Linked DNA regions of Homo sapiens: regions 2 and 3 are each linked to region 1. Evidence: promoter capture Hi-C in 16 types of primary human blood cells and fetal thymus (Javierre and others, 2016). All regions are on one chromosome and are shown on one strand. The core of a region is centred on a gene start or on the middle of the fragment in contact, and the rest is flanking DNA. Distances in the headings are between cores, read along the strand shown. Region 1 holds the start of HIRA (histone cell cycle regulator). Region 2 has its middle 67 kb from the start of LINC00895. Region 3 overlaps CLTCL1 (clathrin heavy chain like 1).

What was found. The method cuts DNA at HindIII sites, captures the fragments that hold promoters and counts their contacts. A CHiCAGO score of 5 or more calls a contact.
Region 2: a contact is called between a fragment that was not itself captured here and the fragment with the promoter of HIRA in region 1, in 2 of 17 cell types (naive CD4 T cells and total CD4 T cells). The highest score is 7.3, in naive CD4 T cells.
Region 3: a contact is called between a fragment that was not itself captured here and the fragment with the promoter of HIRA in region 1, in 1 of 17 cell types (total B cells). The highest score is 5.9, in total B cells.

What each region holds. Positions count from the first base shown.
Region 1 is chr22:19,430,193-19,433,136 of GRCh38, reverse strand. It overlaps HIRA (histone cell cycle regulator), which reads left to right and starts at 1,404. Exons shown (of 25, transcript NM_003325.4): 1 at 1,404-1,697. The coding sequence starts at 1,661. MRPL40 (mitochondrial ribosomal protein L40) reads right to left here and starts at 592. Exons shown (of 4, transcript NM_003776.4): 1 at 530-592. The coding sequence starts at 582. RefSeq lists silencers at 518-827, 1,118-1,517 and enhancers at 1,802-2,549, 2,498-2,567, 2,808-2,937. The HindIII fragment of the contact is 6,181 bases long and covers 1-2,944 here.
Region 2 is chr22:19,632,270-19,635,213 of GRCh38, reverse strand. No RefSeq gene overlaps it. Among named protein-coding and RNA genes, the nearest start is that of LINC00895, 67 kb to the right of the region's middle. The HindIII fragment of the contact is 5,938 bases long and covers 1-2,944 here.
Region 3 is chr22:19,283,044-19,285,987 of GRCh38, reverse strand. All of the region lies in intron 1 of CLTCL1 (clathrin heavy chain like 1), which reads left to right. Among named protein-coding and RNA genes, the nearest start is that of CLTCL1, 7.2 kb to the left of the region's middle. The HindIII fragment of the contact is 8,535 bases long and covers 1-2,944 here.

The sequences.
Region 1 (2,944 bases), core at 155-2,654:
TGGCCAACATGGTGAAACCCCGTCTCTACTAAAAATACAAAAATTAGCCGGGCGTGGTGTTGGGCGCCTGTAATCCGAGCTACTCGGGAGGCCGGGGCAGAACTGCTTGAACCCGGGAGGCAGAGGTTGCAGTGAGCCGAAATCGCGCCACTGCACTCCAGCCTGGGCGACAGAGCGAGACTCTGTCTCAAATAAATAAATAAATATCTGATTCTCTCCCACTTCACAGGAAAATAAAAAATTGCAATGCTCCCAAACCCGGGGCACTTCTAACTACTTGATATGACAGCAAGGTCAACGTGGAAGGTTTTTCAAAATCTTTCGTTCAGACCACAGAGGACTTAAGCAGGACCGCTGCTCGCCAGGGTGCTCAGATTTTCATGCATAAGAGTCACGACCAGATGGCTCATCCCTGAGATATTCGTGGACTGGGAGGCGAGCAGGGAGCACAGGCGAGTCCTGGCGGACAGTCGCGAAGACCCCGCACGCGCCCTGGGCACTCCGCTATCCGGCCAGCGTCCGCACTCACCCGCTAGTCGGGCGCAGGGCTAGCGAGATACTTCGCAGCACGGAGGCCGTCATGGCTACCCTCGCCGCTTCCGGGCGTGCGCCCCTCCACAGTCCGGCCCGCGGTGCCCCCTGCTGAGGTCCGGCAGACCAGGCGCCCAGCGCTCAGGCGTTCCGGCTGCGTGGGCTGGGACGCGCCTGTCCCCGCCCCCGACGCAGCCCCGCCTAGGGTGTCAGCTGCGCACACACGAGGGCCTTGCGTTTCACGCGGCTCGGGGTCCTCCCTTCCGTCCCCGCCCTGTGCTGGGAGCGCGCCTCTGCAGCGGGCACAGTCTAGCCAGTCAGGCCCTAGCCGGTTGGTCGGTCTGCGCCCTCGCGCGGGCCTCGGCTCCGCAGTGCAGCCGGAGCGGCCGAGGGGGCGTCCCTCTGCTCCTCCGAGTCCAAATGTTCATGTCTAGGCAAACGGCCCCGATCTTCTAATAAACGCGTCCGCCCCAGCCTCCCCCACCAGGGTTGGCTCGTCCCCCGCATTCGTTCGAGTCCGAAGCCCGGATCGCATTCCGGCGCCGGCGCGGAGCCCGGCGCTCGCAAGATGCCCAATAGCGCGTGTTGATGAATGACGGAAGCTAGTTAATAAGTCGGACTCAGACTGGCGAGGCAGAGCTGGTGACGGGCGGTCCACGCCACCTGGGCCCCGCCTGCCTCTGCGGGCGGCCCGGGTTGCAACTGCAGGCCCCGCTCGCTGTCCGCCGTCCAGGCGAACCGCCCTTTCTGGGGCGCCCGCGCCCGGGCCCGACCCGAAGCCCCTGCCAGCGGAGGAGCCGGGGCGGCCCAGTCCGCGTGGGGAGCGGTTTCCCGCCGGGGCGATTTGGCAGGTGCGCGCCGTGACTTCCGGCGTTGCCCGGGAGCCGCCTGAGGAGGAGCGGCGCAGGGGATGCGGCTGTGGTGGCGGCGGCGGCGGCCGAGCGCGGGTGGCGGCTGTGGCGGCGGAGGGGGGCGCGGGCCGGCGATGGCGCGGCGGCCCTGAGGGCGCGGGGCGGGCGGCGGCCGGAGGGCGGGTGGCGCGGGAGGAAGCGGCGGCGGTGGCTCCATGGCCCGGGCGCGCTGAGGGACCCGGCGCTCGCCTCAGCCCGGCGGCGGCGGCGGCCGAACAATGAAGCTCCTGAAGCCGACCTGGGTCAACCACAATGGTGAGTGCGCGCAGGGGTCGCGGGAGGCCGAGCCCGGAGTCGGGTCGGGGTCTGGAGTCGAGTCGGGGCGCGCGCAAGTCCTGCCTGTCTCGCCCCTGACGCCCGGTACCCGGTGCCCAAGCCAAGAAGCCGGCGGGAGCGGACTTTGTCCTCAGCGCGGAGAGGCTGGTGAGCCCCAGCACGTGCTCCGGGTTGACCGCAGCGAGGGCCATCTTCGCCCCTGGCTCTTGCTCTGAGTCTTCCGCTGCCCACCTGTGGTCCTTGGAGGGGCCGCGGCCTGGCTCCCAGGAGCGGGCCTTGGTGCCAGCCAGTGCCTTCCACTGGTCTGCATCGCCCGAGAAGTGCTCAGACGGTCCTGAAGGTGAAACCGGGATGAAATCCCCCTTGTGGCCTTTCAGTGGCAGGATGAAGATCCGAAATCTGCAAGAGGGACTGTTACTGCCCCTCTGGATCTGGGGACAGTGCCCCCAGTTGGGGAATTGTGGTCCCTAAATAGGAGGGTTTGGGGGCCCCGGGCCCCCGCGAAGGATCCACGATTAATGCTGAGCTGGGACATCAGGGTGAACTAGGGTTGGGCAGATAGGGCACAGGTGTGTTCTAGCAGAGGGGCTTCTTAGCTCTGTGGCAGTGGCTCCAAAGCACACCCTTGGGGAACGGACTCATCCACCCCATATCTTGACTCTGATACAGAGAGGCTAGTGGTAATCAGTTTCGTCATAGTTCTGCCTTGTTGGCAGAACTGCTGCAGGAGTTGGTGTTTGCTCCCCGGGTAGATGAAAAAAGCGCGCCTCCCCCTCCCCCACCCCACTCTGCTGACAGCACTGTAGCACAGAAATCAACCCAGGGAGACTCCTCCAGCCCAGGGCCTGATTCTGGCCTGTCTGACTGTTGACAGGCAAAGGGTCACCCTGATGCTGTCTTGTTCCTCATTTCTACTTTGCAGTGCGACTACAGGGTGCTACCGTTTTCTTTAGGAGCGAGAATAGATATTTTAACATGTGGCTTTTTCGTTTTGAATTTGGTCCCAGGATGCTCTCTACTACCACAACTAAACTGAACTGATCATGTGTGTGTTCTCCTCCTGCCACCTCTCTCTCCTTCCATCTTGTGTGACATCTTTCCCATTTTTCAGGGACTAGGTTCACGTGTTTCTTTTGAAACTGTTCATCCTGAGTTACCCCGGTAGATGTGCTGTATCACTGTCTGTGTGTTTTGCCTGGCATGGAAGGTGTGAGGGTACTTTCCAT
Region 2 (2,944 bases), core at 275-2,774, 200 kb before region 1:
TCCTGTCTTTCTTGTTTAATATTCATCTCTGAAATGATATTTAAATATTCATTACAACCCTTTCCTAATTTCTTGCCATTCATTTTCAATTTTTTAAAAGTTTTAAGTTCAGAGAAATGTATGTATGTTGTCACGTATCTTGTATCAGTTTCTTGTTTAAAGTTTGTTTGGACATGATGATTAGGGCATAGTTTTCATCCATTTTACATTATTCGTCCTATTTTCTTTTTTCTTGTAATACACTTATAATCCTTTGCATAGGATTTGACCTTGAAATTTGCGTCCTTAAACTTAAAGGAGGGTGCCCCTTCTCTGCGGCCTGCCAGCATCTGTTGCGCTCCTCTGCTCGTTCTGCAGTCCGCCGTCTCCTTCTCCTTGCGTCCTCGTTCTCCTCTGCTTGGTGTTATCTTCCCCTCCCCATCCCGCTGCCATGTCCCCCAGTCTCCCCCAGCACTCCCCCCACCACACATGCCAACCCCTCATGGATTCGCCCCGAGGCCGCGGCCTCCCCTCACTAGGTTGTAAATTCCAACATGGGCTTTGGTTTCACTACCTGGGTTCTGGTTGCCCCCTCTATTTTTATAGAGAATTCAGGGGAAATCAAAATCAAAATCAATAACTTCCTCACCCTGCTCACCTTGTCAGAAGTTCCTCTTGCTTTCAAAAGGCTGTGCCCCTCCTCTGGGAAGCCCGGGGCTTAGGTCTTTAGTCTTTGGGATCGGCTGGGCTCCCGGGCCTGCAGCGGAACCTCTTCCCCTTGGTTTCCTGAGCTAGGAATGGTTGTGTGCCCGATGCCACTGCCTGAGGGTGCACGCAGAAAGCGCTGGGCGTTTGGAAGCTGGCAAGGGCCATTAAGTTTTGCTCACCACTGCCATTCAGTCATGATTTATCTACAAATACTGGCTCCTGAAGGACAGAATCCGTGTGTGTTAGTCTGCTGGGGCTGCCATGATGAAGTACCACAGGCTGGGCGCCTTAAACAACAGACACCTACTCCTTGCAGTCCTGGAGGCTGGAAGGGTTGGTCCTTCTCAGGCCTCTCTCCCTGGCTTGTCAATGGCCGTTCTCTCCCTGCGTTCTCACGGGGTCTTTCCTTTTCCTCTGTGCCTGTCTGGGTCCTAATCTCTTCTTCTCCTTCTTTGAGACAGGGTTTTGCTCTGTCATCCAGGCTGCAGCACAGTCGCATGATCGTAGCTCACTGCAGGGCTCAAATGATCCTCCCACCTCTGCCTCCCAAGTAGCTGGGACTACAGGCATAGTCCCAGGCTAATTTTTGAATTTTTTGTAGAGACAGGGTCTTGCTATATTGCCCAGGCTGGTCTTGAATTCCTGGGCTCAAGTGACCCTGCTACCTCAGCCTTCTGAGTAGCTGTGACTACAGATATACAAGACCACACCTGGCTAACTTTTTTTTGGTAGAAATGGGATCTCACTCTGCTGTTCAGGCTAGTCTCAAACTCCTGGGCTCAAGCGATCCTCCCATTTTGGCCTCCCAAAGCACTGGGATTATAGGCCTAATCTCTTCTTCTTATAAGAACACTTGCCATGACTTCTGGTGTGTGTTGCCAAGGTGCGGGCCTGGTGGGCCACAGGGGCAACATTATTGCCATCGTCCTCTCCCTCTGTCCCGGGGGTCGAGATGTCAGGACTCAGCTCTCCAGAGACGGAGGGCTGTCGTAACCTACTTGGGCTACTGGACAATGAGGAGATTCATGGCCCTGTGCAGCACCGTCACCAATTGCCTGGTGCAGCCCAAAGACCACCAATGTAAGGGCAGACCTGTGCCATGGAACACAGCCACTCCTTCCCAAGCCTCATGCTGACCCCAGGTCACTGGAGCCTGGGAGTGGAGGGGGTTCGGGGCCTAGAACCCAGTTAGTCTCAGACCCCGCTTAGGCAGAATCCTGGGGAATCCCTGCCACCATGGCAGATCCACTGCTCTGAAACTGATACGGAAATGCTGAGAAGGGAGAAGCATGGTCCCTTTAAATGATACGGAAGGGGGTAAGGGAAGTGCCAAGGGAAGTGCGGGTATAGGAGGGCGTTTTCTGACCCTGCTACCTCAGCCTTCTCAGTAGCTGTGACTACAGGTACACAACACCACACCTGGTTAATTTTTTTGGTAGAAACAGGATCTTATTGTGTTGTCCAGGCTAGTCTCAAACTCCTGGGCTCAAGTGATCCTCCCACTTTGGCCTCCCAAAGCAAAGACCGTTTCTTACTAAGGCTCCACCCCCACGGACCTAAGTGAGGACAGGCATTTCCTGCCTTACATTTTCCAAGACCGCTCTTGCTGCCACGCCCCATCGGGCGCCTATAAAAACCCAGACCCTAGCAAGGCAGAGACAGGAGCGGCTGGACGTGGAGAGGAGCACACTGGCGGAGGAATCCACAAGTGGCCGGCTGGCGAGAGGAATGCGCCCACAGGCACAGGCATGCCACTGATCGCGGAATGACGTGGAGTTTGGCCGGGAGTCGGAAGAGTGTCTGGGCCACCCAGCTGCCCCACTCCAGGGGAAAACCATCTGTCTTCTGGTTCCCCCATCTGCTGAGAGCTACTTCCACTCAATAAAACCTTGCACCCATTATCCAAGCTCATGTGTGATCCGACTCTTCCGGTACACCAAGGCAAGAACCCGGGATACAGAAAGCCCTCTGTCCACGCGACAAGTAGAGGGTCTAATTGAGCTGGTTAACACAAGCCGCCTATAGACAGCAAAACTAAAAGAACAAACAGTAGCATACGCCAACTGGGGCTTCAGCTGTAAACATTCATCTCTAGACCCTGCTGTGGGGCCTGAGCCCCACAACCTGCCCATCTGTATGCCCCCTCTAGCGGTGGGAGAAGCAGGACACAGAAGAAACGAGCCACACCCCCATCCCACACCCTGCAAGGCGGACAAAGGAACCTTTCCCGTTTCGGAACCACTACACAGGCTTAGGC
Region 3 (2,944 bases), core at 282-2,781, 150 kb after region 1:
ACTATAAACGAAGCCACCATATCCTTCCAAAAATGTTCAAAAGAATCCTGCTTTAAATATGCTTCTGCCCTTTGCTTTTGTAACTTAACACACTGAAGATCCTCCCATAGGATCACAGACAGATCACTGCATCTATCTGACATGTTGTTTATCAGTATTCCCTAGGGTAGTAGTTGCTGGCACCCTGTCACCCCCTTCTCTAAGGGGGAATCTTTCTGCAATCTGTCTGATTTTTCCTTCCTTTGCTTCTTCACTGAGACTTTACTGAGTTTGCAGGCTCTTCTCCCACATTTTCTTCCACTTCTCTTGAGGCCTGCTGCTGGCCTCCATGCCAGAGAGATGACCATCACTCTTGGCAGGCTGAAGAAGGATGCCACAAAGCTGGGATAGCAAAGTTCAGTGATGAAATTAGAATCGGATATATCTTGACAGGCCAGAATCCAGCTAGTTGACATTTAACTGGGATAAATATAGAGTCTTGTGCACTGGTGTTAAAATAAAGAAAACCTGTAATAGTGTAATTTGAGAGAAGTTCTGTAAAGCATTATATAAATGTAGTTAACTATCCCTGAACTAACCTACTCCTGGAATGTAAGTTCTGGAAGAGACCTTAGTGTCAACATTCTTCATAGGCCCTCATTTACAGAGCTCCCTCTTTAGGCTAGGAAAGGCTCTTTGGTAAGTTTCTTTTTCTTTTTCTTTTTCTTTTTTTTAAGATGGAGTCTTGTTCTGTTGCCCAGGCTGGAGTGCAGTGGCACAATCTCGGCTCACTGCAACCTCTGCCTCCAGGGTTCACGCCATTCTCCTGCCTCAGCCTCCCGAGTAGCTGGGACTACAGGCACCCACCACCACGTCCAGCTAATTTTTTATATTTTTAGTAGAGACAGGGTTTCACCGTGTTAGCAAGGATGGTCTCGATCTCCTGACCTTGTGATCCGCCTGCCTCGGCCTCCCAAAGTGCTGGGATTACAGGCGTGAGCCACCGCGCCCAGCGTGTTTCAAATATAAAATGTGTTTTTTATTTTATTTTCTTGAGACAGAGTCTCGCTCTGTCCACCAGGCTGGAGTGCAGTGGCATGATCTCAGCTCACTGCAGCCTCTGCCTCCCCGGTTCAAGCGATTCTCCTGGCTTCAGCCTCCTGAGTAGCTCGGACTACAGGTGCGTGCCACCATGCCTGGCTAATTTTTGTATTTTTAGTAGAGATGGGGTTTCACCATGTTGGCCAGGATGGTCTTAATCTCTTGACCTCGTGATCCGCCCACCTCAGCCTCCCAAAGTGCTGGGATTACAGGTGTGAGCCACTGCACCCAGCCCATTTATTTTTTTGAAACAGAGTTTCACTCTTGTTGCCCAGGCTGGAATGCAATGGCGTGGTCTTGGCTCACTGCAGCCTCCGCTTCCCGTGTTCAAGTGATTCTCCTGTTTCAGCCTCCCAGGTAGCTGGGATTATAGGTGCCCGCCACCACACCCAGCTGATTTTTGTATTTTTATAGAGATGGGGTTTCATTATGTTGGCCAGGCTGGTCTCCAACTCCTGACCTCAGGTGATCCACCCGCCTCGGCCTCCCAAAGTGCTGGTATTACAGGCGTGAGCAGCCACGCCAGGCCCTCAAAGTATGTTTTAAAAACTGTAGATGAACTAAATTTTACTGCCCTGAAACAAGTAATTTGTTTTACTATTTGTTTACCATCCATATGCTAGGCACAAGGATAAAGCAGTGAGTGAGACTGGGAAGGAGACAGATACAGAAAGAAAAAATATTGGTGTCCACATAGGTGTGAAAACATGGGGATGTTCAGTGCAACTTAAGCATTCTGGCTTCACTGATGTAGGCAGTTGATGTTCTCACTAATACTCTTGTACAAACACAGTTGTAGTCCTCCCAGGCAGACATCTTCCTTAAGCCCCTTATACATAGAAACCACAGGACTATCAGATGAGTAATTTCTTTTTGCATATTCCCCAGTGTCAGATTTTTTTTTTTTTTTTTTTTTGAGACAGGGTCTGTCTCTGTCACCCAGGCTGGAGTGCAGTGGCACAATCTTGGCTCATTCCAGCCTCTGCCTCCTGGTTTCAAGCGATTCTTGTTCCTCAGCCTCCTGAGTAGCTGGGACCACAGGCGTGTGCCACCATGCTCAGCTAAGTTTTTTATTTTTACTAGAGACAGGGCTTCACCATGTTGACCAGGCTGGTCTCGAATTCCTGACCTCCAGTGATCTACCCGCCTCGGCCTCCCAAAGTGCTGGGATTACAGGCATGAGCCACCATGTCTGGCCCCCATTGTCAGATTTGAATTTTGATTGATTTAATTGCAGGCTTTGAGAACTGAAAAGGATCATTAGACAGCATCTTCTTTACCTTTCTTTAGTTAAATCTTATATATGCCATTTAAAATGTGTAGCTAAGGTCCAGTGCAGTGGTGCATGCCTGTAATCTCAGCACTTTGGGAGGCCGAGGAAAGTGGATCACTTGAGACCAGGAGTTCAAGACCAGCCTGGCCAACATGGCAAAACCCTGTCTCTACTAAAAATACAAAAATTAGCCAGGTGCAGTGGCGGACACCTGTATTCCCAGCTACTTGGGAGGCTGAGGCATGAGAATCGGTTGAGTGTGGGAGGCAGACTTTGCAGTAAGCCAAGATTGCACCACTGCACTCCAGCCTTGGCGACAGAGCAAGACTCTGTCTCAAAAGAAAGAAAAAAAGAAAGAAAATTTTTTTAAAAATGTGTAGCTAGGTTACCTATCAGAATAATATACTAGGGATCAGGAATCCTTGGTTATTTCTACTAACTAGTGAAAAAAAAAACAAACCTGGGCCAGGCCCTGTGGCTCACGCCTATAATCCCAGCACTTTGGGAGGCCGAGGCGGGTGGATCACTTGAAGTCAGGAGTTTGAGACCAGTCTGGCCAATGTGGTGAAACCCCGTCTCTACTGAAAATAT